Regions from separate parts of the Homo sapiens genome. Here regions 1, 2, 4, 5, 6 and 7 are each linked to region 3. The links are contacts of gene promoters, found by promoter capture Hi-C in blood cells and fetal thymus (Javierre and others, 2016). All regions are on one chromosome and are shown on one strand. Each heading gives the region's core, a stretch centred on a gene start or on the middle of the fragment in contact. The rest is flanking DNA. Distances are from core to core; before and after follow the strand shown. Region 1 overlaps CAST (calpastatin). Region 2 overlaps CAST (calpastatin). Region 3 holds the start of GLRX (glutaredoxin). Region 4 overlaps ERAP1 (endoplasmic reticulum aminopeptidase 1). Region 5 has its middle 11 kb from the start of ERAP1. Region 6 overlaps ERAP1 (endoplasmic reticulum aminopeptidase 1). Region 7 overlaps CAST (calpastatin).

Region 1 (2,938 bases), core at 1-2,500, 920 kb after region 3:
TGTCTCAGTCATCATCTAAGACCATCTCACCATTATGATACACAGAAGGGCAGAAACCAGAGAAATTGCACTCTTGGAACATAAAACCTTCAAGTTTGATTGTATAAAGGACTTTGAGCCCTGAGGATCACTAGAGGGACACCAAGTAGCTGGTACTGCCCAGCATTCTCAACTATATTTCACTATGACATAATTCTCACAAATCGCAAAAGGCAATCCTGCAGCTCTGTGCTGGCTGGGAACACATGTCTCCTCTGCAAACAGTCAAGATAATGCTCAGGAACGGTTTCTATCAGAGCAGCTTGTGCCTCTCCCCTCCTGGAGTGGACAGTTTATTTTTATCTGGCAGGCTGGGGAACAGTGGTGAGTACCACACCCCTGAGAGTGGGAGTTCCTACAACGATCAGCCATTGTGCCTTCAGAGAAGAAGGCAGCAGGGGCCACTTCAAGCTTCCCTGCTTCCTAAGCTTAGGTTGTCAGAAGCCTTTTTAGAGATACATTTTTAGAAAAAGAAAAATAGTGTGGTAACAGTTTACTACTTGCTTCTTTTTTTTTTGTTTGTTTAGAGTATTTTATAGTAATATTACTATAGCTTTATGTCTAGCTTACCAAATAAGGGGTGAAGTGTGCCCCAGAGAACGCTGTTACTGTAGAAACGTGTCTTAGCCCCAATTTCCACTCATTGGTAAGTTCTTTTTCCTTTCTCTCTTTTGCAAGGTTTCAAATAAAATTGCCTTTCTAGAGCACTTCCCCAATCCATATTCAGTTTATAATCTAAAATGTATTTTACAAAGAAGTAAATGGATTGTTCGGGCTCCAGAGATGTCTTTTTTCATGCACAGGATTTTTTACTTTTAACAGGATACAATGAGTGATCAAGCACTCGAGGCTCTGTCGGCTTCACTGGGCACCCGGCAAGCAGAACCTGAGCTCGACCTCCGCTCAATTAAGGAAGTCGATGAGGTACTGACCTTAGAGTTGATTTACAAAGCTTGTTAGTCTGCACATTACAAAACCGAATGCACTCTGCATGTTTAGAATTCTCGCACAACTTTTATTGGAGAGTAAAAGTGAGCATTCTTCATTGTGCCTTATTTATTGCTGAGTGGTTAGCAACTAAGGGGGATAGTTACATGACTGACTTGTGAAACAGCTAGAATTTTAACATTTGAAATGAACACGAATCTCCCTTGCTAGAGCTTAAATGACCCTTGACTAAACAAGGTAACAAGGAGGCAATGCCTGGTGGGAAATAGTGAAGTTTGGCAATTGGAAATTTGTATTTTCAGAAGGGTTCTGGGTGCTTCTGTTTATAAGAGAAGGAGATGTCTATACACGGAGTGGGAAGATCCTTCATTTATCACTATGGGGAAAGATGTTGAAAATTTTGTCTCAAATTAAAATCAAGCAACAATTACCCTAACTAGAGCTCCTGCATATTTATAGAATAATGCTGATGAGTGTTTATCCCGCCACACTCCAAGATCTTAACAAGCCTTCTGAACCAAAACAAGCTTACATCTGGTGTACGAAAGTTTTAATATTAAATTATAATTTTTGTGGAATTTTTCAACTCAGTCCTCTGGGGTGAAAGAGGAAGGAAAGGAGAGAGTTGCCGGTTCCTGACAAGGCAGTGTTGTGGGGAGATGGAAAGGTAGCCTGGGATCCCCAGGAGCCCGCCCCACCTCCATCAGCTCAGGCTGGGGGTGCTGGCAGGCATTGCTGTCACAATGCCCCATCTCTGCTGTCACTTCCTGTTCTGAGTCATCAGGGAAGGGGAGTCTCCCTGACTTCCAGCAACAATCCTTGAGTCTGGGACTGCCCTGGCCTAAGATGGGCCAGTTTCTATCTTCGACTTTCTTGGAGGGCTCACCGGCCACAGTGTGGCACGATAAGCTTTGTGACGGTGAACGCAGAGGAGCAAGAGAAGCAGTTCGTATCTTCCAGGACCAAGTAATGTATTGGGAAGAAGGGAAACTTGATTACAACACAATGTGAGATATACATTACTTAGAGTAGCCGACAGAAGCAGTGTCATCTTGAGGAAAGCGGGGTGTTGGCAGAATCCTGGGGGGAGTCAGGAGGCCAAGCTGAGTTGTGGCTTTACCACCTGAGGGCGACAGGGCCACAAGTATATTGCACTTCTGCCCCAAGCTTCTTACAGACACTTAAGGAGAGACAATTAATGTGGGAAGGGAGGGTATAAACATGTCATAAACCTCAGGATCAAAGGAGTCTTAAAAGTGACTAAAAGCAGATAAGCAGATGTTAAGAAAAAAAGTGACATAAAATAAGTTATTTAAACATGTGGGTAACTAGTTTGGGAATGCATATGAATGTATTAAGTTCCCTCTAGAAAACTTCAGAGTCGCAGCAAACTAAAATTCCAGCAAAAAGAACTCCTCTTTTCCACTCTTATGACATAATAGTTGTATTAGTCTGTTCTCATGCTGCTAATAAAGACATACCAGAGACTGGGTAATGTATAAAGGAAAGAAGTTTAATTGACTCACAGTTCCTCATGGCTAGGGAGGCCTCATAATTACGGTGGAAAGTGAATGAGGAGCAAAGTCACGTCTTACATGGAGGAAAGTAAAAGAGCATGTGCAGGGGAACTCCCCTTTATAAAACCATCAGATCTAGTGAGAATTATTCACTATCATGAGAACAGTACAGGAGAGCTCCGCCCCCATGATTCAATTACCTCCCACTGGGTCCCTCCCACGACACGTGGGAATTATGGGAGCTACAATTCAAGATGAGATTTGGGTGGGGACACAGCCAAAGCATATCACTAGTTTTCCTTTTTAATCATATACAAAGTATGAATGTTTCTAAAGAGGATCTTTCAGTCCTCTAGATTATTAACCTGAATTCTTAGTACCCGACTTAGTGGGTCCTTTACATCCTAGATAGTCTGATGTGATGAGAAGGCTCA
Region 2 (3,133 bases), core at 293-2,792, 900 kb after region 3:
GTATGTGTGCGTGTGTGTGTATTTTGGTGGAAGGGAGTGTCCAGTTGGTGCCTAAGGGTTCTCAGGAATAGTTATGTTTATATGATTATTTTTGAAAAATAAGTATACTAAAGCTTTGGATTTCTGTCTGTAAATTATGATAGTTTAACTACAAGCATCAATGTGTTCTGCATTAACTGAGGTTTGTGGGGAAGGTGATTTTGTTCATGGGCCATAGACTATAGTGGGTTTCATACAATCACCTTGAGTGGTAGTGTATTGGGGGTGGGGGAAGGTAAGGGAGAAGCAGGAATGGGCTCATGCTGCCCTGTGACTCAGCCTCTGAAGTGGCTCTGGACCAGGCATTAGGGACACAGTGAGGTCCATCTTACAGGCTTCCTTCCCTGGGTGTTGTTGGCAGGGTAGCAGCTGTTTACTGACAGTCAGTTACTTAAGAAGGCAGCTCATGCCAGATGGAATCCCTGGGTTCTAAAACCTAATGGACTTTAAGTGTTAAGGAGGTTTAAATGAGTCTGGGTAGGAGTTTGCAAAGATTATAATTATCTGTTTAATATTAACCAGTGTAATACAAGTTAAGTACTAGAATAGTACTCCAAACCATACAAGTATCCACACACACATCCCAGTACTTAGATGACTGGATCACAGGGGCTGATTGCACCACTGCAAGCATCTCAAGGAAGGGTGTTCCTTGAATAGTTACTATTTATCACCTCTTGCCTTCTAAGGAAGAGCCTAGATGAGACATAATGCAGTAGAATTCCCTCTGTAACCTTGTCTCCACCTTCTCTTTCTTACATGACACTGAACGGACAGTTCACATCCACCCAAGTCTATTTACGGGAGTTTTGTCCTTCTATCTTATGTATTAGGAATAACACACTGGCAATTTAATGAGCATCTGCAATTTGCCAGACATTTTGCCACACTATCTCAAATACGACCCTGCAAATAGATGTTACTGTACTTTGTATGTAAATGGACCTGGAAGACAAAGCTCAAAGTCACAGAGCTTGTAACTGACAGAGCTGGGGCTTGAACAAAATTTTGTTGAGTTGCAAAATCCATGTTTTTTCTGAAAATAACATAAACAGTAATTATAATAATATTTACTGAGCATTCATTATGTGCCAGGGAGTAATTCTAATAATAAACTTACAAGGTAGTTGTTAACTACTAAAGAAAAATTGAGGTTGGGAAACTGGAGATTATAAAATTTAAGTATCTTACCCGAGATTGTTTAGTAAATAGCAGACCCAAATTTTGAACCTATTTGATCTGGTTACAAAGGCTTTCACTACTGGACACCACCTCCTACTAGATTTTTGTGCTCTAAACTGGGTAAAACCAAGGTAAAGGGCCAAGGGCAGTATGGTTAAGAGGAGCTGAAGGACCATGTAGATTGTAGGTTAAATAGAATCGAACTTTCTATTTCTTTCTTTCCTTTCTAGGTGTCAGCTTCCTCTGGTGCAACCAGCAAGTCTTCCAGTATGAATCCCACAGAAACCAAGGTATGAAGAATGCTAATTGAGTGAGTGCTAATTTAAGTTGATTGTGCTGCAAAGCAAAACAAATGTAGACTAATTGTTGATGATGAGTTATATATGCTAGGAAGTTTTAATTATGGAAGTAAACATTTTCTTCCTAATTTATGGGGGTCTTTGAAAACTCAGCTTTCCTTCCAATATTTACCTTACACATCATCTACATGGTTTTAGGTTATCTAGAAAAGTAGAGTCACCTAGAGTTGTTTTGTTTTGTTTTGTTTTGTTTTGAGACAGGGTCTTGCTCTGTCACCTAGGCTGGAGTATAGTGGTGTGATTACACTCACTGCAGCCCCAACCTCCTGGACTCAAGCGACCCTCCCATCTCGGCCTCTTGAGTAGCTGGGGCTACAGAGGCACACCACCATGCCCGGCTAATTGTTTTTTTGTTTGTTTGTTTGTTTGTTTGTTTTTGTAGAGACAGGGTCTCACTGTGTTGCCCAAGCTGGTCTCAAATTCCTGGGCCGAAGCAGTCCTTCCACCTGGGCCTCCCAAAGTGCTGGGATTACAGGAATGAGCCACCGTGCCCGTGGCCAGTTTTGTTTTTGTTTTTGATCCTAGATTTGATTGAGTTTTTTAATTGAAGATATTCCTCTAAGTACATTTCTCTACATTGAAATGAGAATATAAATTATTAATTCTTGCTAAAATGGTCTTACTATTCTGAGCACTTAAAAATAAATATAAAAATGAAAGATTATACTAAATGAACATAAAAATATACTGGTTATTTCGGATGCTTTCCCAAGTTGTTTTTTCTGAAATTTGAGTCTTGTGGGGTACCATTTTATTGACAAACCTTTCTTGAGCTCTATTTGGGATTTATTCTTAAAATTATTTTTTTGAATTTCAGAATTAAAAATAAAAGAATTTCCTCTAGTGGTATTGTCCACTTTGTTCTGAAGAGCTGGCTGCAGCTGCCTTTTAAACCCTCTCCCTAAGTTACTCTAGCTCAAGCTGTATCTCTTGGGAATATTTCAGGGGAGGGAATTAAAGAGGGAGCATTTTCAAAATTCTCTCAACTAATGTTTGTGTGCCAATATTCTTTAATACCTTTAAGAGCTACCCCAACTCCATTATTATTAAATTGCCCTTGTTTAAAATTACCAACCTACTTTTGTTTTCTGTCTTTCATATTACTATGCTATCCCTGTAGTTTCCTATCCCAGGTGATGTGGCACTATAACTTAGTACTATCAAAGGATTATATGGCCTCATCTTGAATCATCTTCAAAGAACATTACAAATATCTAGAAATACACTATCCACATCTAAGTTCTTATGTCATTTAGCATTCATTTAAAATTTTAATCTAAAATTATCAGTTTTTAAATTTAGTATTTAAATTTACATTGATTTCTAAATTGCTTTCAAAATATACATTATATAATCTATAATTAATGTTAGCTGTCTCTATTTAATTATGTTAAGCTTAATCTTAAAAAATTAAAAATCTTTTTTTTTCCTTGAGGCAGGGTCTCGCTCTGTCTTCCAGGCTGGATGTAGTGGCATGATCACAGCTTGCTGCCACCTTGACCTCCTGGATGCAAGTGATCCTCCTACCTCAGTCTCCTGAGTAGCTGGAACTC
Region 3 (3,216 bases), core at 68-2,567:
GTAGGATAACACACTAAGCCCCCTTTCTGCACCAAAATGCTGACTTCTTATTAGAGAGAAGGGGAGAGAAACAACCTCCAATGCTTTATACTCAGAACCCAGAGACAACCTTGTAAGTCAAACTAAAACTGAAATAGGATATGTGCTTGGCCTAACACTGTGCTGTAGAATTCGTGCATCGTAAAAGAGAACTTAGCTGAGCTGGTGGGACATTTCTCATCCCACCTCACAGCAGAACTGATACAGGTGATGTGGCTGGCATCCCTCCTGAAGCCCAGGACGCAAAGCCAAGGATGCTGAAGAGAGGGAAGTCTTTCGGATGGAGGAGAGCAATTTTTAGAGGGTCCCACAGTCTATTCGTAGCAAATGGGACTCTGAGGTCACCTAATCTGGTCTTGCAGCTGGGATCTTTGAGGACTACTGGGGTGGTGACTTGCCCAGGATCACACAGCCAGCCATTATAAGAGCCAGGCCAGAACTCCAGGCTATGATTCCCTACAATGTGGGGCCTGGAAACATCCATAATTAATTTAGAACAAGGGGCAGATAACGGTACATTAGATTTTTCCAGTGGGAGGAATTAGATAAGGAAGAATGAGCAAATTAGAAAAAGAAAGCCTAGAGAAAAGAATGAAGAACATGAATCTCATGTTAAATAACAAACACATCACACCCGGCCCTCCACCCCAGCTTCCACCTCCAGCCCTGCCAACTGAAAACTGTCATTTCCTGGCAGTGCTTAAAACAAAGACTCTAGATAATTCCCCAGGGACTCACCGGCAAGCTGCTGGTCCCACTTACCCTGCCGCACAGCAGACATCAGCTGTACTCCCTCTTCTGCCCCGTGAAGACCTTTGGCTGCAGTGCCGCCGCTCATTCAAGTGACCGAGATCCTCTCTAAGGCGCCCTCCCCCACACCCCCCGCCCCGCACAGCCCTCTGGACGCCTTGAAGTACGGAGCCGCAGCCTTATCCTAAAGAAAGGCACAGCTCTGACAAGAAAAGGCAATCCGGGAGCCTTTCCCTAGCCGTTTAAAATGAAACTCACCGTTCTTGCTCCCGTGAGCTGTTGCAAATAATCTTGAATCTCGTTAGTGTGGTTGGTGGCTGTGATATCGACAAATTCCAGAAGCCCTTGTTTGATGGGCAATTGACTGAGGATCTCTTGGGCCCTCCTGCAGTACGGGCAGGTGGGCTTGATGAACACAACCACCTTCCCAGGCTGGATTTTGCAGTTCACAAACTCTTGAGCCATGCCGATGGGCTGCGGTCTCCCCGGGAAGAATCCTCAGTTGCAGGTATTGCTTGGGGTATTGAGCCCCGACCCAGCCAGTTGGCTCCTATTTAATAAGGAACCTCCCTGGAGGCGGAGTTTGCCTGGTAGCTTGCTCGAGTTTTAAAGGGACAGCTTCGAAGACATTTCCATCTGGTATACTTCACTAGTTAGCAATGCCCAGGAATGCAATACTTGCTATTTAATCATTGGTAGCTATGAAAGACACTCTGGGTATCTTTGTTGTCCTTGGACATTTGGGGAGTGCCTGCCCATTGGCAATGATCAGAGTTTAGTCACCTCTGGGGAAGCATAAAGTGCTTACTCACAAAGGGGCTGAGGAGGCAGTGACTTCTTAGAGCAAATTCTTGTTTTCCCTCTAGGAGATACAGTTGTATTTTAAAATGCAAACAGAATCACTTAAGAAACAGAACACTTGGAAATCTCTTTAGAAGAAGTGAAATTGAAACTGTGACTTTGCACTCCTCATGAAGGTTGCTCTCACAGCATTTTGCTTGGACTGTATGGTGGGTGTTTGTTGTTGTGATCTTTTTAATGGAATTCATTCTCAGTATTTAAAAATCTGGAGGTCTCACAAAACAATTCGGACTTAAAACTTCTCTCTGAAAAGTCAGGTCGGGCAATACAGAGCTTGCACCTTTTAGTGGAAGCTGCTGGGGCTGACAGCTGTTGCCCCCTTTGTATAGGGCAAGTAGTGGCTTTGGTTTGCCACAGGTCCCAACGACAGGCCCATGCCTGAGACACCGGCTTCACCCCATAACCATTTGAGTTGGTAACCCTTGAACAGCAGTTTAATATGGAGGCAAATTCCAACACAATCCTTGATACAAAACTACAGATGAAATGAGAATCTTTTTTTCTGGTTGAGCCTATGTTTGTGACCCTCTGCTTTTAACTGTTTGTGAGGGGAAGTAGTGTTGTAACTCAGACACCACATTCACTTCAAGTGTTATAAGACACGGGTTGTAACAGTAGGAAATCTTTCGCTCTTCCCCAGGGTGCCCATTCTCCTTATCCCGCAAAGCAAAGTCCTCTACTCCTGGGTCTAGTTCCGGCCCCCTCTAGTGTATGGTAGCTTAAATAAACAAATCAAGGAAAAACTATGTCCTTTAAACGTGAATCATCCTTTCCCCAGGAAGTTTTATGGTGAAACCAGAGTATCTTCAAAGAGGCGGGGCCAAGGCCAGAGCTGGACACCACGACTGCCACGTAAGAGGAATCCCAAGCATACTGCGATCAAGGGAAGGGAAGAAAATCCACTCCCAGAAGCAGCTTTTTACTGTGACTCTCATCGTTACTAGAATTAAAATGGCAAAATGAGAAAGCCAGATTCTGAGTCACGGAGGGGGAGCTAAGTGACAGCTCTGTCCAGAGAAAAGGATGTGGCAGGGCTGGGAGGCCCCTCACGTGGTCAGGGCTCCGGACTTCCCACTTCCCACTTCCCTCCAAAGTAGGCTCTGCCACAGAGTCTGAGCCTCCTCTCTTTTTTCATTCTTTTACCTCAGAACCCTGTGGCCAGGCTCCTTCCAGAGGCCCCTGCCAGGAGGTCCAGGGTCTGTTTCAGGGCCCTCAGGCTGTTGCCTTAAGTTCCCTCAGCCTGAGGTTTATCCACACGACTTGCACCTGCTACTCACTCAGAGCCTTTCTCTTCTCCGGTCTGTTGTTGGCTCCTCCCTTCCTGGTGCCTCAGCCTGCCACTGTGTTCAAGTTAAAAGCCACCACCACCACCACCACTCCCCATTTCCTGCTTTCCTGCCTCTGCCCTTTCATGAAATTTACTGTCTGTACCTTTCTCACCTCCATTCTCTCATTTTGTTGTTATCTGACCTTGTCAACCATTCTGCTGAATTGTTGGCAGACACTAATCATGGCCTCTATGTCACCAAATGACCATTTAGCTAGGTATCCTGACCTTTTGCAAAT
Region 4 (2,878 bases), core at 78-2,577, 960 kb after region 3:
CATTTATACCTCAGTGCCCACTTTTAACATCCTTAAACAAGGACTAATTGTCTCAAGTAATTTTCTTCAAGTCCTAAGGTTTTTACTGGCAGAGCTAAGACCTCTTAACGTGTCTGAGAAGAGGCACAGTTTTCACTAGTTTAATTGCAACTGATTTATGCTGCTGTCAACACCATAGCATCCAAAAATAACTTCTAAATGACAATCCATTTCTAACTCACCACACCCTCAAAGTATTTTGTCTACCCCATATTAATTAGCTAATTTTCATTTATGTTTAAAAATATATATATAGATTTTTTTTTTTTACCTCTTCAAGCCGTGTTCTTGTGGAGAATTGATTTGTTGTACCCATTACCATGTGGGCTATGGAAGATGAGCCAAGTTCAAACCTAGAGAGGGAAATATTCAAAAACGGGTTGTGAAATACTTATTCATTTAACATATATTTTAAGGGCCTCCTATATATAATAGCTTTCAGCTAAAAACTGATCGGTGTGAAAAATACAAAATATGATGTCTATCCAATGGGTTAAGATCTAGCTGTAAAGAATAATACACACCAACAGCCTAATAAAAGGTTAAGTATCCAACAGAAAATGACAGAAGCAGGAAATGCTATAAGAGTTAGACAAAGACAGATGTGAACAAGCAAATGTGTTCATGGAAGGCCTGGGCTGAACTGTGAGGAGGAAGGCTTCAGATATGTCCATGGGCTCAGGAAGGGGTTATGCCAGATGGAATGGAAAACATCCCTGTCCAGATTCACTAGTTAGCACTGAAGTCCAGTTTTATGTTTTCTACAAATATTTTAGGTATTTCTACTGCCTATCTTCAATCAAAAAGTACCTTTAGACTGTTACTGTTCTTTTACAAACAGCAAGGCTAAAACACAGTAAGGTTATGAACTTATCCAGTCACAGCACAATTTTTGGCACCACTTACTTTTGTACAAGTTTGTTCCAGTTTTTCCTCAGAAATTGCCAGGCCAGTGGGTATCCTACTGGGTTCCTGCCAATGAGTGTAAGAATTTGTGGAAACTCCTGAGTTTTTATTTTATCTCCCTTAAAGCTTTCATCTAGTAGCCTAGAAGGATTAAGAAAAGAAATGTTAGCAATGAATAGGTGATGAAACAGTTATGAATCACTGCAATAAAATTACTTGTAAAAGAAAAAAAAGTCTGCCAGTAACAAAGGTTAAAAAGATAAATGGGTAACCACAATCCTGATAAACCCACTATAGCTACATAATAAAAACTAACATTTATATAGTGTTCATAACACCCATTCTCATATACCCTCTCATTTGCTCAAAAGAATAGTTAAGGAAGAGTAGCTCTAGTAAATATTTTTAATATGTTGTCATTTTAAAGATGCACAAATGTATACACCTTTAAATATTTTTCCTAACACCTGGTTCTCCCTAATTATTTGCCTTTCTCATTAGATGTGTGCTGACTTGCAGTATGTTCCCAGCAGGATAGGCAATTCCTGGCCAAGAAAACAAAAATAGATGCCAGAATGATCTAATCTAATCTAATTTCCCTTGGCCACATGAACATGAATGAATGACGGACTCACCATTGAAGCTTTTCCTTATTTTGGGTTCTGCAGAGGGCAAATTCAATTTGGCTTTTCTCAGTACTGGACAAAGAAAACTGATATTTACTATAAAGAAAATCCCAGCCTTCTGTGCTCTGGGCCCCCACAGCAAACACTGCCAAGGTCACGTCGACAGGCAGGCTATAGAAAGGAACACACTCGGTGAGAATCTGAGGTGCAGTAAGTATGTTTAGAGGCATAATGGTGACTAACTATGAACTGCTGAACTTTCCCCATGATCAGAGAAGCATGCCTGGAAATATAAACAAAAACTACTGATTTCCTTCAGTTACAATTTTTTTTTTTTTTTTTTTTAGGACGGAGTCTTGCTCTGTCACCCAGGCTGGAGTGCCGTGGCTCGATATCGGTTCCTGCAAGCTCCGCCCTCCCGGGTTCACGCCATTCTCCTACCTCAGCCTCCCGAGTAGCTGGGACTACAGGCGCCCGCCACCATGCCCGGCTCATTTTTTGTATTTTAGTAGAGACGGGGTTTCACCGTCTTAGCCAGGATGGTCTTGATCCCCTGACCTCGTGATCCACCCACCTCAGCCTCCCAAAGTGCTGGGATTACAGGCGTGAGCCACCGCGCCTGGCCTAGTTACACTTTATAAAAAAAAGGCAAGAGAAAAATATCTAAAATTAGGTTTTAAGTAGCCTTCTCAAAAATGTGAAATGCCATTTTTATAAATACCTACATATTTAAATACTTTAATGATGCTGGGTGACTCCATAGGGGATCACCTTTCAAGCCAAAAGAAATTCAAACTATATTCAAAATTTACACCATGATCACAAGTCAGGACGGCAGTAGGACCACTGTTTGGATTTCTTTAAGCTGAAGCATGTAGGTTGTTGGCATAAATGTTTCCTGGGTGGGGTTTAAGCTCCAAATGTAAAAAGGACTGAAGTGTAGCAAGAATAGGGATTTCCAGATACGGTAAAATCCTACCTTGCTTAGACAGTGTCAGCAATTACTATGCATCCCTGTCAGGGAATTTGGAAGCCCAAAGAAACTACTATAAAATACAATGCATGTGTTTCTCTATGGCATGGCTGTCACCGTTTAATAAGATTTTGCATTGCCTATACAAAATGAGAATTATTCCCATACCATCCTAACTCCCCAGATATTTGACTTTTATGCATAGAAGTTCCCTCCTAGCATTTCTTAAAGTTACGAGATACATAGATAAATCTTAAAAAGCAATTTATTTTCCAGAAAAGGGCAGCAGGGGAGACACTTAAACTTTTTGTTTTCCCTAATGTTTAGTACCAAT
Region 5 (3,084 bases), core at 284-2,783, 1.0 Mb after region 3:
TTTAATCAGAAAAGGATTTATTGCAGGCTATTACATGACTTACATAATCATTGGGAAGGCTTAAAAAATACACTAGACTGAGCTTCCAGAAACAAATCGCAAAACCACAATGTAGAACTTGGCCACCAGTGAAACTGCTTCTCTTGCCATGATCCAGGAGCCATCTGCTAAATTGGGCAGCCTCTGCCACAATTGCTGGCTCCAGAACCATACCATGTGTGCCACAATCTTTCCCCACAAAATGAATAGCTCAAGAGCTGCCTGTCTCCCTACCGAACTCAATTCCAAATTCAAGTCTCCCACCAGTGCTACTGTTTGGCAGAGCCTAAAGCACATCTAGAATCTAGGAGCAAGGAGTCTGGAAAATAAAGTGTTTGCTTTCCCGACTCTGCAGTGGTGTGAGAAATTCTGAAAAGCGTTTGGAAGAGATGCTGAGTGAGCCAGTCCCAATATCTGCAATAAATATTAAACTGTACTGAGGTTGAACAAATAAAAAAGAAATAAAGCAATCATGAGGAAGCCTCAAGTAATATTGATTGTAATTAAGAACAAAAAATAATAATTGAGGTACCAATCGTAGATTTAGATTATGAAAGACACGGGGCACTTGGGAGTGAGATGAATATTTAACATTGTGACAGAAGCATATTGCCAAAAATCAAGTTATCATTTGGTATATTTGGAATGTCTCCAGGGGCTTTAAAACCCTTTTGCCTGCTCAACACACCTCCCTTTCCTCCTGTAAATGAATAATCACACTGCTCAGGCTCAGTCTGAGATGAACACAACACCTCCACTCTCTGGCCACCGCGATGAGGCCAAGGGCAAAGCCAGTCCAAGCAGACTCCCAGCCCAGGATTGTTCTGGCTGAAGCTAACAGGGAAGCCTCTTTTTTTTTTTTTTTCCTTTATGTTCCCAGCACTATATAAATATGGCCCTAGAGTTAATGGCTAAGTTCCCGCTATGGGTGATGGCTGAGAGAATAACCCCAAAGAAGAAAGAAAAGGAGGCTAAGCTTGAGAGGCTTTTTTTGTTGTGCAGGTTTTCTGAGTTCATCCTTAATTAAGGCCTGGGACTACCTCTTTCCTCCAGCTTTCTTCAACGCCCGAGGCATTCAGAATCCATGCCATAAATCCTCCCTCTTGGATAAAGATAGTTTTATTGCGGTGAGAATCAGTAGCGTTTAATTTTAAGAGTTGTAATAAACAAACCACAGTCTCAATCTTATAACCTGCTATTCCACTATTCACTTAAAGGAAGGTAGTGTCTTTTGTGTTCCATGAGAAAAGTGACATTTCTTTGCTTTCCCATACATTGAGGTCAACCTAAATTCCAATGAAGCCAAACCTGAACTGCATTTATTTATTTATTTATTTATTTATTTATTTATTTATTTATTTATTTTTGAGACGGCGTCTCGCTCTGTCACCAAGGCTGGAGTGCAATGGCATGATCTCAGCTCACTGCAACCTCCGCCTTCCAGGTTCAAGCGATTCTCCTGCCTCAGCCTCCCGAGTAGCTGGGACTACAGGCACCCACCACCACGCCCGGTTAATTTTTATATTTTTAATAGAGACGGGGTTTCAACACGTTGGCCAGGATGGTCTCAATCTCTTGACCTCGTGATCTGCCCGCCTCGGCCTCCCAATGTGCTGGGATTCCAGGCGTGAGCCACCACACCCGGCTTGAACTGCATTTTCTAACCAACTGACTTTATTTCAGTGATTTTGTAACATCACTCAATTTCAGGTAAGTACTCTCTAAGAACAGCTTCATTTGTCAGAAGCCTCATGGACAGCTGCTACCACCATATCATCATGTTTTCATCCTACAGACAATCATCAGCGGTGTAGACTGGTGAGTTCCAGCTATTTCACTAACAATGGGGAAGAACCAAAGAAAAATTGCTGTGAGAGGAGGAAGGCAGGAGAGCCTGTGGCTCCAGAGGGGTGTGTGTGTTTGTGTATGTGTGTTTGTGTGTGTGTGAGAGAGAGAGAGAAAATAAAATGTTTTCTACCAACAAAACTCAGGTGTGTTTCCTTTACTTGCCTTGAAGCTTCTTCAAAACTTGTTATACCGTAAGTTTGAAAAACCAAACACTTTTCCTAGGATTGTTTTTTTACGTACTAAGGACCAGATCAGATCAGCAATTAGAAGTATGACATACAAAATAATCACCCTCAAGGAAGGTTTAAATTAGGGATGAATTTCCAGTATTGACATGGATCTTTCCAAGCACCCTGCATATTCAGCACAGTATTCTAGTATTTTGTGAGTGAAGTCATTATTTCTTAGGACATCATCAAAAGATTGAGCGTGTAATAGACTTCAAGCACCTATGGATTTAATATTTACAATTTTGACTATTTGGGTGTGACCTGAAGGTCTAGCACTTGGGTAGTTTATAATTTTGCCGAGACGTAGGTTAGAGTTACATGAACAGATGCAAGAGAAGGAGTCACTTCACCCATATGTGGGCCAATGACTCAGAATCCACATCCCAACCCAATTCTGTTGTTCTCCATTTGCCATCACAGGCATATTCACTTTCTCAAGTGATAAAATCTCAACGGAAACAGCAAAAAAAGCTTTAAAATTTCATGAACATTCTTGAAAGGATCTCTCAAAGTTCTAAAAATCATTTTACTGCATTTTATGGGAGAAAATATATACTCAAGTATATATTTAATCTGGCAACTAACTAATCAGCATTTGCTTATTTGCCATTTAGCAAACAACATAGCTTAAAAAAAGACAAATGAAAGAAAATCTCATTTTCAGAATTAGTAGCAAGAATATGCAGGGTGCTTGGAACGTCAATACTGGAAATTCATCCCTAATTTAAACCTTCCTTGAGGGTGATTATTTTGTATGTCATACTTCTAATTGCTGATCTGATCTGGTCCTTAATATGTGAAAAAACAATATACTTCAGATTTGAATGTTGATAAACAGTCTTGTAAAAGTTTGCTGAAATCTAAACGTTACTAGTTTTCCTTAAACTGTTGAGGATCATATAACATCTACAACCATGTAATTTTTCAGTGAGTCCTATAAAATTGCTACTAATTCTGAAAATGAGAT
Region 6 (2,935 bases), core at 395-2,894, 980 kb after region 3:
AAGTGCTTTGTGAAGGGCACTAATATTTAAACCTGACCTGAATTTCTTATACCACTTCCCTCCTATCAGCATGTATAACCTGGAATGGCACTGTTACTGAAATCTTGCATTTTTAGGTGCAATTTTTACTTTGATTACATATAACTATGGCTTGAAACAAAAGCATAGGTTATAAATGAAAAGTTAGTAACGATCTGCCAGGCAATAAAACAAAACAGGTGACCCAATGTTGACTGTCACTGGGCTAGTGCAAGTCACAGAGAATCAGTAGATTTTCCTATAGAAAATACACAGGAGTGCAGACTCACCAATGGCATATTGGAGATGGCTAGGTGCCTTGGCTCTCTTCTAATTTTGATTGAGAAACTTGCTTTGAAGGCAGGTTCATCAAAGCAGGGAAAGGCCATTCTAGCTGCAGTGGGTTCAAATTGTGTTGATGCTAGTATCCTAAAATTAAGGCAAGTGAAATAAAAATTGAGCATGAAGCACCAGGAACTCTAAAACAGGTGTTTGCTTTTTAATTCCTAAAGTTACTATAAGATTGATGGATTTTGCTACTAAAAAATATTTCATCTGACAAAAGCTATCATAAACTAAGTTAAAAGACGAGTTACACTGGGCATGGTCATGGTGTCTCATGCCTGTAATCCTAACACATTTTTGGGAGGTTGAGGTGGGAGGATTACTTGAGCCCAGGAGTGTGAGACCTACCTGGGCAACATGGTAAAACCCCATCTCTACCAAAAATACAAAAATTAGCCAGGCATGGTGGTGCAGGCCTGTAGTCCCAGCTACTTGGGAGGCAGAGGTGAGACGATGGTTTGAGCCCAGGAGGCAGAGGTTTCAGTGACCTGAGATTGCGCCATTGCACTCCAGCCTGGGCGACAGAACCAGACCCTGTCTCGGGAAGAAAAAAAAAAAAGTTAAAAAGAAAAAGTAAAAAACAGGGAAAATTCATTTAAGAAGTATGTGAGGAAAACTTAATAGCCTTAACAGATAGTGAGATCCTAAAAATATGTAATCCTAAAAATGGCTCATACCTGTAATCTTGGCACTTTGAGAGGCCTAGGCGGGCGGATCACGAGGACAGGAGTTCGAGACCACCCTGGCCAACATGGTGAAACCCCATCTCTACTAAAAATACAAAAATTAGCTGGGTGTGGTGGTGCGCGTCTGTAATCCCAGCTACTCAGGAGGCTGAGGCAGGAGAATTGCTTGAACCCGGGAGGCGGAGGTTGCGGTGAGCCGAGTTCGCGCCACTGCACTCCAGCCTGGGTGACAGAGCAAGACTCCGTCTCGACAAAAAAAAAAAAAAAAAAAAAAAAAAAATCCCCAACAACCAAGGGAATCTCAGGCAAAGTCAAAGGTCATTAACAGGCAATTCATAAAAGAAGAACCTATAAATCATTAACAAACATATCAAAAGCTGCTCAACTTCCTTAATCAAAGTTACGTAAATTAAAAAGAGATCATTTATTTGGGGACCTTTTTTGCTCTAAAAAGACTGCCAATATACACTATTGGTGAGGGGTAAGAAAAAATGACAAAGTTTATCAAAAATTTATAGGCTCTTTGGCTTACCAATTTTACTTCTAGGCATTTATTCTAAAGAAATAATTTACAAAAATGCTCATCAAAGTGTTGTTGATACTGAAAAATTGGAAACAATTTCATTTCCATTCCCGAGGGATTAAAGATATTAATGTACAACTATGTATTTTAATAAAATCATTAAAAAGATGTCTAGTAATAGTCATTTATATAAAACATCTTCCCAACATATTAAGTTAAAAAATTTCCTTGTAAAAGAGAAAATATAAGAATTCTATTTATATAAAATAATATATATGCATATCCAGAAAGAAGTCTGGCAGAATATTCCAGTGAAATAGAAGTAGTGGTCAGTTCAGGGGGCTATGAGTGAAATAAATTTTACTTTCTTACCTTGATAAAATAATATGGAATTTGAAAAATAAATTAGTATAATCTACCAACAAATAAAATTCCATTTTAAAACTGAGCATAAAATCTCCCCCAAATAAGTCTCCTCCTTAAAAACAGAACCAAAGCAAGGTGAGAAGAGATCTCTAAAAAAGTTTTAACTGAGATAAAAGTATTTCCTCTAATATGTTGCTAGTAGGATTTGCTGAAGTCCTAACCTGTAGTATCTGTGCATGTGACCTTATTTGGACATAGGGTCTTTACAAGTATCATGGAGTGAAGAAGAGGCCACCAGGCTGGGCCCTAATCTGGTATGTCTGGTTTCCTTATAAGAAGATGGAGACTGGGACATAGGAAAATAGAATGGCCATGCGACTAACAGAGGGAGAAACTAGAATGACGCAGGTGCTAGGCATGGAGTACCAGGGATCCACGGCCACCACTAGATGCTAGGAAGATATAAGGAAGGATTCTACCCAGAGTCTGGAGGGAGCACGGGCCTGCTGACACCTTGATTTCAGACTTCTAGCCTCCAGACCTGAGAGAGAATACATTTTGTTGTTTATAGCTACCCAGTCTGTGGTACTTTGTTACAACAGCCCTAGGAAACTAATACACAGTTCAGGAAAATTAAACATGTTTATTATGTCTCAGAAATCGAACCAAATAAACAAATAGATATTTACTCTGATAGAGCTGGGGGAAAGAAAATTGGTTAAAATAGAATTTTAAAATGAGATTTAAAAAGCAAGGGAAAAAGCCATTTTTAACACTATAAAGAAGATGCAAAAGCAAAACTGAAGAAAAAGTTCAACAGCAAAGGGAATTTTAAAAGACAATCAATCTGAAATAATGAATTTAGCGTGGGCAGCACTTGCAGTTTAAAAGAAAAAGAGAAAAAAAAATACCTCAGTTCCCCTTCCTTGGTTCTGTAGGTGCTTTTGTAAAATCCGTGGAAAGTCTCCGAAAGATTGCCAGCATAGTGAATGACAAC
Region 7 (3,205 bases), core at 345-2,844, 940 kb after region 3:
AGAATAAACAGTCATTAAGCTATCTTTAAGAGTTATAGTTAAGTGATGGCATTGTGCTCATAATTTTATATACAACATGTTACTAATAAAATTTTTTTCAATAAAAGAAATTTGAAGATGCTAAACTTGCTGCTGCCATCTCTGAAGTGGTTTCCCAAACCCCAGCTTCAACGACCCAAGCTGGAGCCCCACCCCGTGATACCTCGGTAAGCAGCACATCTTATTTGGGAGATAAATGTTTTTGCGCAGCCACAACTAGAAAGAAAATAGGGCGCCTGTTTAAAGCAAATGAAAATAGGCAGAATTATTAGGAAGATCAGGCACCTTCTATTTCAGAAGAGCCGAGACTGATGATTTAGCGAGATGGCAGAGATTAACTTTGAAATGATTAAATGAAACTATATATGTGAAAACATTGTACACATAGTCAAGGACCTTAATATTATTGTTGCTTTATAAGAATTGAAAGTGCAATAAAGTGCATTGTGTCTATATTCAAATTACTAGATTTGAAAAGTTCTTTAGCTTTCCTGATAATTGATTTTCTCCTTTATATTTTTTCTTATACATTCTATAATTTACTACCCATTATTTAACCTCAAGTTTATTTTATGGAATCGTCATGTTTGAGCTTTTACAAACATTTTACAAACGTCATGGAATAGCATTGTTTTCTTCCCAATTCACACCAGTAAAAATTTGTCACTTTCATACTAGCAGTAGAAGAACCTCAGCATCAATATTGTTTTAATTATTTACATGCTGTGAGGCAAGGCTGTGGGACCAAAGCTTTTCCAGACTTCCTTGACTAATCACCTGTGCAATACCAAATTATACATTACCAAGGAGACCACAGCACATCAAATTATAAAGGGATTGCCCTAAACCAGATCCCCATCTCCTTTGGTTGAGAACAGTGCCTCATTTGCTAGATGGAGATGAAGTAACTTTAGCGAAGTCAGCTATGCTTCCATTCCGTTTGATGTAGCATCAAAGCATATTTAGTGCTGTAGTCTGAGATTCTGATGGATTTTCATCCTGTTGCGTCAGCTTCAGGATCATCTGAAAATATCCAGAGGCACAAATGACAAAGCCCAGACCTGGCCCCGGGCAGCTCTACCATTAGCAGCTATAATCCTGGATTATAATAAAGCACTTAAAACCAGTAAAATGCCCCGTGTGTGTGTATGTGCATGTGCATGTGCATGTGTGTATGTAAACACACCCACAATGAAGAAAGTCCCCATGCAACAGAAAGGAAGAATCATTAATAGCCTAGGCTGCCGTTTACACTTCAGTTCTTAATATTCAGGCCAGAGATTCTGCCCTGATGAAGGCTATCAGTAAACATTTGCAATCAAAAACTTTTTTGCCTTTAAGAAGTAGGTTTTACAATGACACTTCTCTGATCACATTTCCCATCAGAGAGGCTTGTTTTTAGTTAACATTTTATTTGAAGATGTCACTAAAACAAGGTATAAAGCTTTATTTAGATAAAAATATTAGGAAATCGAAGAGTCAAATAAACCATGATAATTCACGGGAGCTTTCTTTGCTGTGATTATTAGATTGTTACTAACAGTGTTACATACACTGAAAGCATTTGAAGACATGATTTCAAAGATCTGTGTAATAAAATCACTCCAACAGGAAAACTGCTTCAAAGAAAATAGAAGATCATGGATGTGACTAAGCATGACAGGGAAAAGCTTTATCAGTCCCAAGACCTGGGTTCTATTCACTTTTTAACAATTTGTTTTCAAGCAACTGACTTAGCTTCCCTGAGCTTTTTACCTCAAAAAAAAAAAGCCTGCTTAGTTCACTGAGAACCATTGTGGGCATCAAATAAAACTGGATAGTGTATGTGAAAACATTTTGAAAATCAACTGGAAAGTTCTATACAGTATTGGACAGAGTTCAGCATGGTGTCTTATACAATGTAGATATTAAACACATTTTAATTGAATTCATTTAGAGGTGGAATTTTGAATGCAATGTGTTGAAAAATATGGATTTTGCTATAATAATACTAATAATAATTTACCATTTGTTGGGTCCTAACATACAACTAGTATTGTTTTAAATGCCTTTTCAATCATTTACTTTTCTCAGCAACTTAGGAGTATAAGTACTACTATTATTCACATTTCACGGCCAAGGAAACTGAAGCTGAAAGGGGTTAAATAAGCTGCCTGAATCATACAGTAAATAAATGTTAGAGGAAATAAGCTATCTTAGTTACAGTGATATTGTTGTCCATAATTTTTTTCCTCTAGAATACCAGCTCCCATTTCTGCAATTTCACTTCCATGAGCTTCCTGAAGATGAAAAGAGAGGTTTCCCCACCAGTTCAGAAATTCTCTGAAGTCTTTCAGGGCACTCATCACCAGTGTGGCAGACAAGCCCCTTCCACTCTCCTGACCCCAGATTGTCTCTGGGGTTTTGTGCTTTAGGAAGTATTAGGATGGCAGTGCCGAGCTCCATGGCTTCCCACAAACTGCGGGTCACGCTGCACTTTCTGAAATGCACCCCTCAAGATCTTAGAGTTTTAGAGAGGACCCACAGAACCAAAGAAACACTTACCCTCTATAGTTGCAGAATCTTGCTTCCTAACCATCTGACAACATTAGTAGATGTTTGTTTTCATATCCAGTTTTCTAATGGTGTTTAATTTCTAAATGAAAGGCACACATGATTGGTTCATTTGCTTTTGGACCCTTTATGTGACCTCCAGGTCACCCACTGGATATGGCTCCTGAGGCTGCCACTAAGACCTCCTTAACCTGGTGGGATCTTCACCAAGAGATGGGCAGGGTTGGGTGGAAGGTGCTGGCCCTCCAACCCCAGTAGGGTGACAGATACTGCCGCTCTTCTCCTGATCTTCCATTCCTAGGCTTCTCTTCTCTGACCCTGTCTACTCCCCTGCCCCAGCCCCAGATGTCTTTTTCTTCCAAGGAAACAGGTTCCCTCCTGAAAAGATGGAGTTCCTGGGCTAATTTGCCTCTGATACAGTTTGGCTAATGAGTGACTAATTCAGCATTATTTACTTTTCAGCAGAGTGACAAAGACCTCGATGATGCCTTGGATAAACTCTCTGACAGTCTAGGACAAAGGCAGCCTGACCCAGATGAGAACAAACCAATGGAAGATAAAGTAAAGGTAAAAAAAAAAAAAAAAAAAAAAAAAATTCACTAATAGTGAAATT

Evidence for each region. Contacts are between HindIII fragments. The CHiCAGO score rates a contact against its expected background, and 5 or more counts as called.
Region 1: a contact is called between a fragment that was not itself captured here and the fragment with the promoter of GLRX in region 3, in 2 of 17 cell types (activated CD4 T cells and non-activated CD4 T cells). The highest score is 6.0, in activated CD4 T cells.
Region 2: a fragment that was not itself captured here is called in contact with the fragment with the promoter of GLRX in region 3 in 5 of 17 cell types (activated CD4 T cells, naive CD8 T cells, total CD8 T cells and 2 more); the score reaches 7.4 in activated CD4 T cells.
Region 4: a contact is called between a fragment that was not itself captured here and the fragment with the promoter of GLRX in region 3, in 2 of 17 cell types (total CD8 T cells and total CD4 T cells). The highest score is 5.7, in total CD8 T cells.
Region 5: a fragment that was not itself captured here is called in contact with the fragment with the promoter of GLRX in region 3 in 1 of 17 cell types (non-activated CD4 T cells); the score reaches 7.5 in non-activated CD4 T cells.
Region 6: a fragment that was not itself captured here is called in contact with the fragment with the promoter of GLRX in region 3 in 2 of 17 cell types (non-activated CD4 T cells and total CD8 T cells); the score reaches 6.1 in non-activated CD4 T cells.
Region 7: a fragment that was not itself captured here is called in contact with the fragment with the promoter of GLRX in region 3 in 1 of 17 cell types (activated CD4 T cells); the score reaches 6.1 in activated CD4 T cells.

What each region holds. Positions count from the first base shown.
Region 1 is chr5:96,741,794-96,744,731 of GRCh38, forward strand. CAST (calpastatin) reads left to right here. Exons shown (of 32, transcript NM_001750.7): 16 at 862-963. Among named protein-coding and RNA genes, the nearest start is that of ERAP1, 65 kb to the right of the region's middle. The HindIII fragment of the contact is 523 bases long and covers 990-1,512 here.
Region 2 is chr5:96,721,188-96,724,320 of GRCh38, forward strand. It overlaps CAST (calpastatin), which reads left to right. Exons shown (of 32, transcript NM_001750.7): 4 at 1,452-1,511. Among named protein-coding and RNA genes, the nearest start is that of CAST, 60 kb to the left of the region's middle. The HindIII fragment of the contact is 2,862 bases long and covers 112-2,973 here.
Region 3 is chr5:95,821,409-95,824,624 of GRCh38, forward strand. GLRX (glutaredoxin) reads right to left here and starts at 1,318. Exons shown (of 3, transcript NM_001118890.2): 1 at 1,048-1,318. The coding sequence starts at 1,254. RefSeq lists enhancers at 1,746-1,835, 2,066-2,566. The HindIII fragment of the contact is 7,969 bases long and covers 1-3,216 here.
Region 4 is chr5:96,780,113-96,782,990 of GRCh38, forward strand. ERAP1 (endoplasmic reticulum aminopeptidase 1) reads right to left here. Exons shown (of 19, transcript NM_001040458.3): 16 at 1,581-1,742; 17 at 946-1,086; 18 at 311-392. Among named protein-coding and RNA genes, the nearest start is that of ERAP1, 26 kb to the right of the region's middle. RefSeq lists an enhancer at 260-1,459. The HindIII fragment of the contact is 517 bases long and covers 1,070-1,586 here.
Region 5 is chr5:96,817,538-96,820,621 of GRCh38, forward strand. It overlaps a transcript of ERAP1 not described here. Among named protein-coding and RNA genes, the nearest start is that of ERAP1, 11 kb to the left of the region's middle. The HindIII fragment of the contact is 1,041 bases long and covers 1,014-2,054 here.
Region 6 is chr5:96,800,554-96,803,488 of GRCh38, forward strand. It overlaps ERAP1 (endoplasmic reticulum aminopeptidase 1), which reads right to left. Exons shown (of 19, transcript NM_001040458.3): 2 at 2,850-2,935; 3 at 309-447. Among named protein-coding and RNA genes, the nearest start is that of ERAP1, 5.9 kb to the right of the region's middle. The HindIII fragment of the contact is 5,871 bases long and covers 1-2,935 here.
Region 7 is chr5:96,762,167-96,765,371 of GRCh38, forward strand. It overlaps CAST (calpastatin), which reads left to right. Exons shown (of 32, transcript NM_001750.7): 25 at 108-206; 26 at 3,055-3,159. It also overlaps a transcript of ERAP1 not described here. Among named protein-coding and RNA genes, the nearest start is that of ERAP1, 44 kb to the right of the region's middle. The HindIII fragment of the contact is 226 bases long and covers 1,482-1,707 here.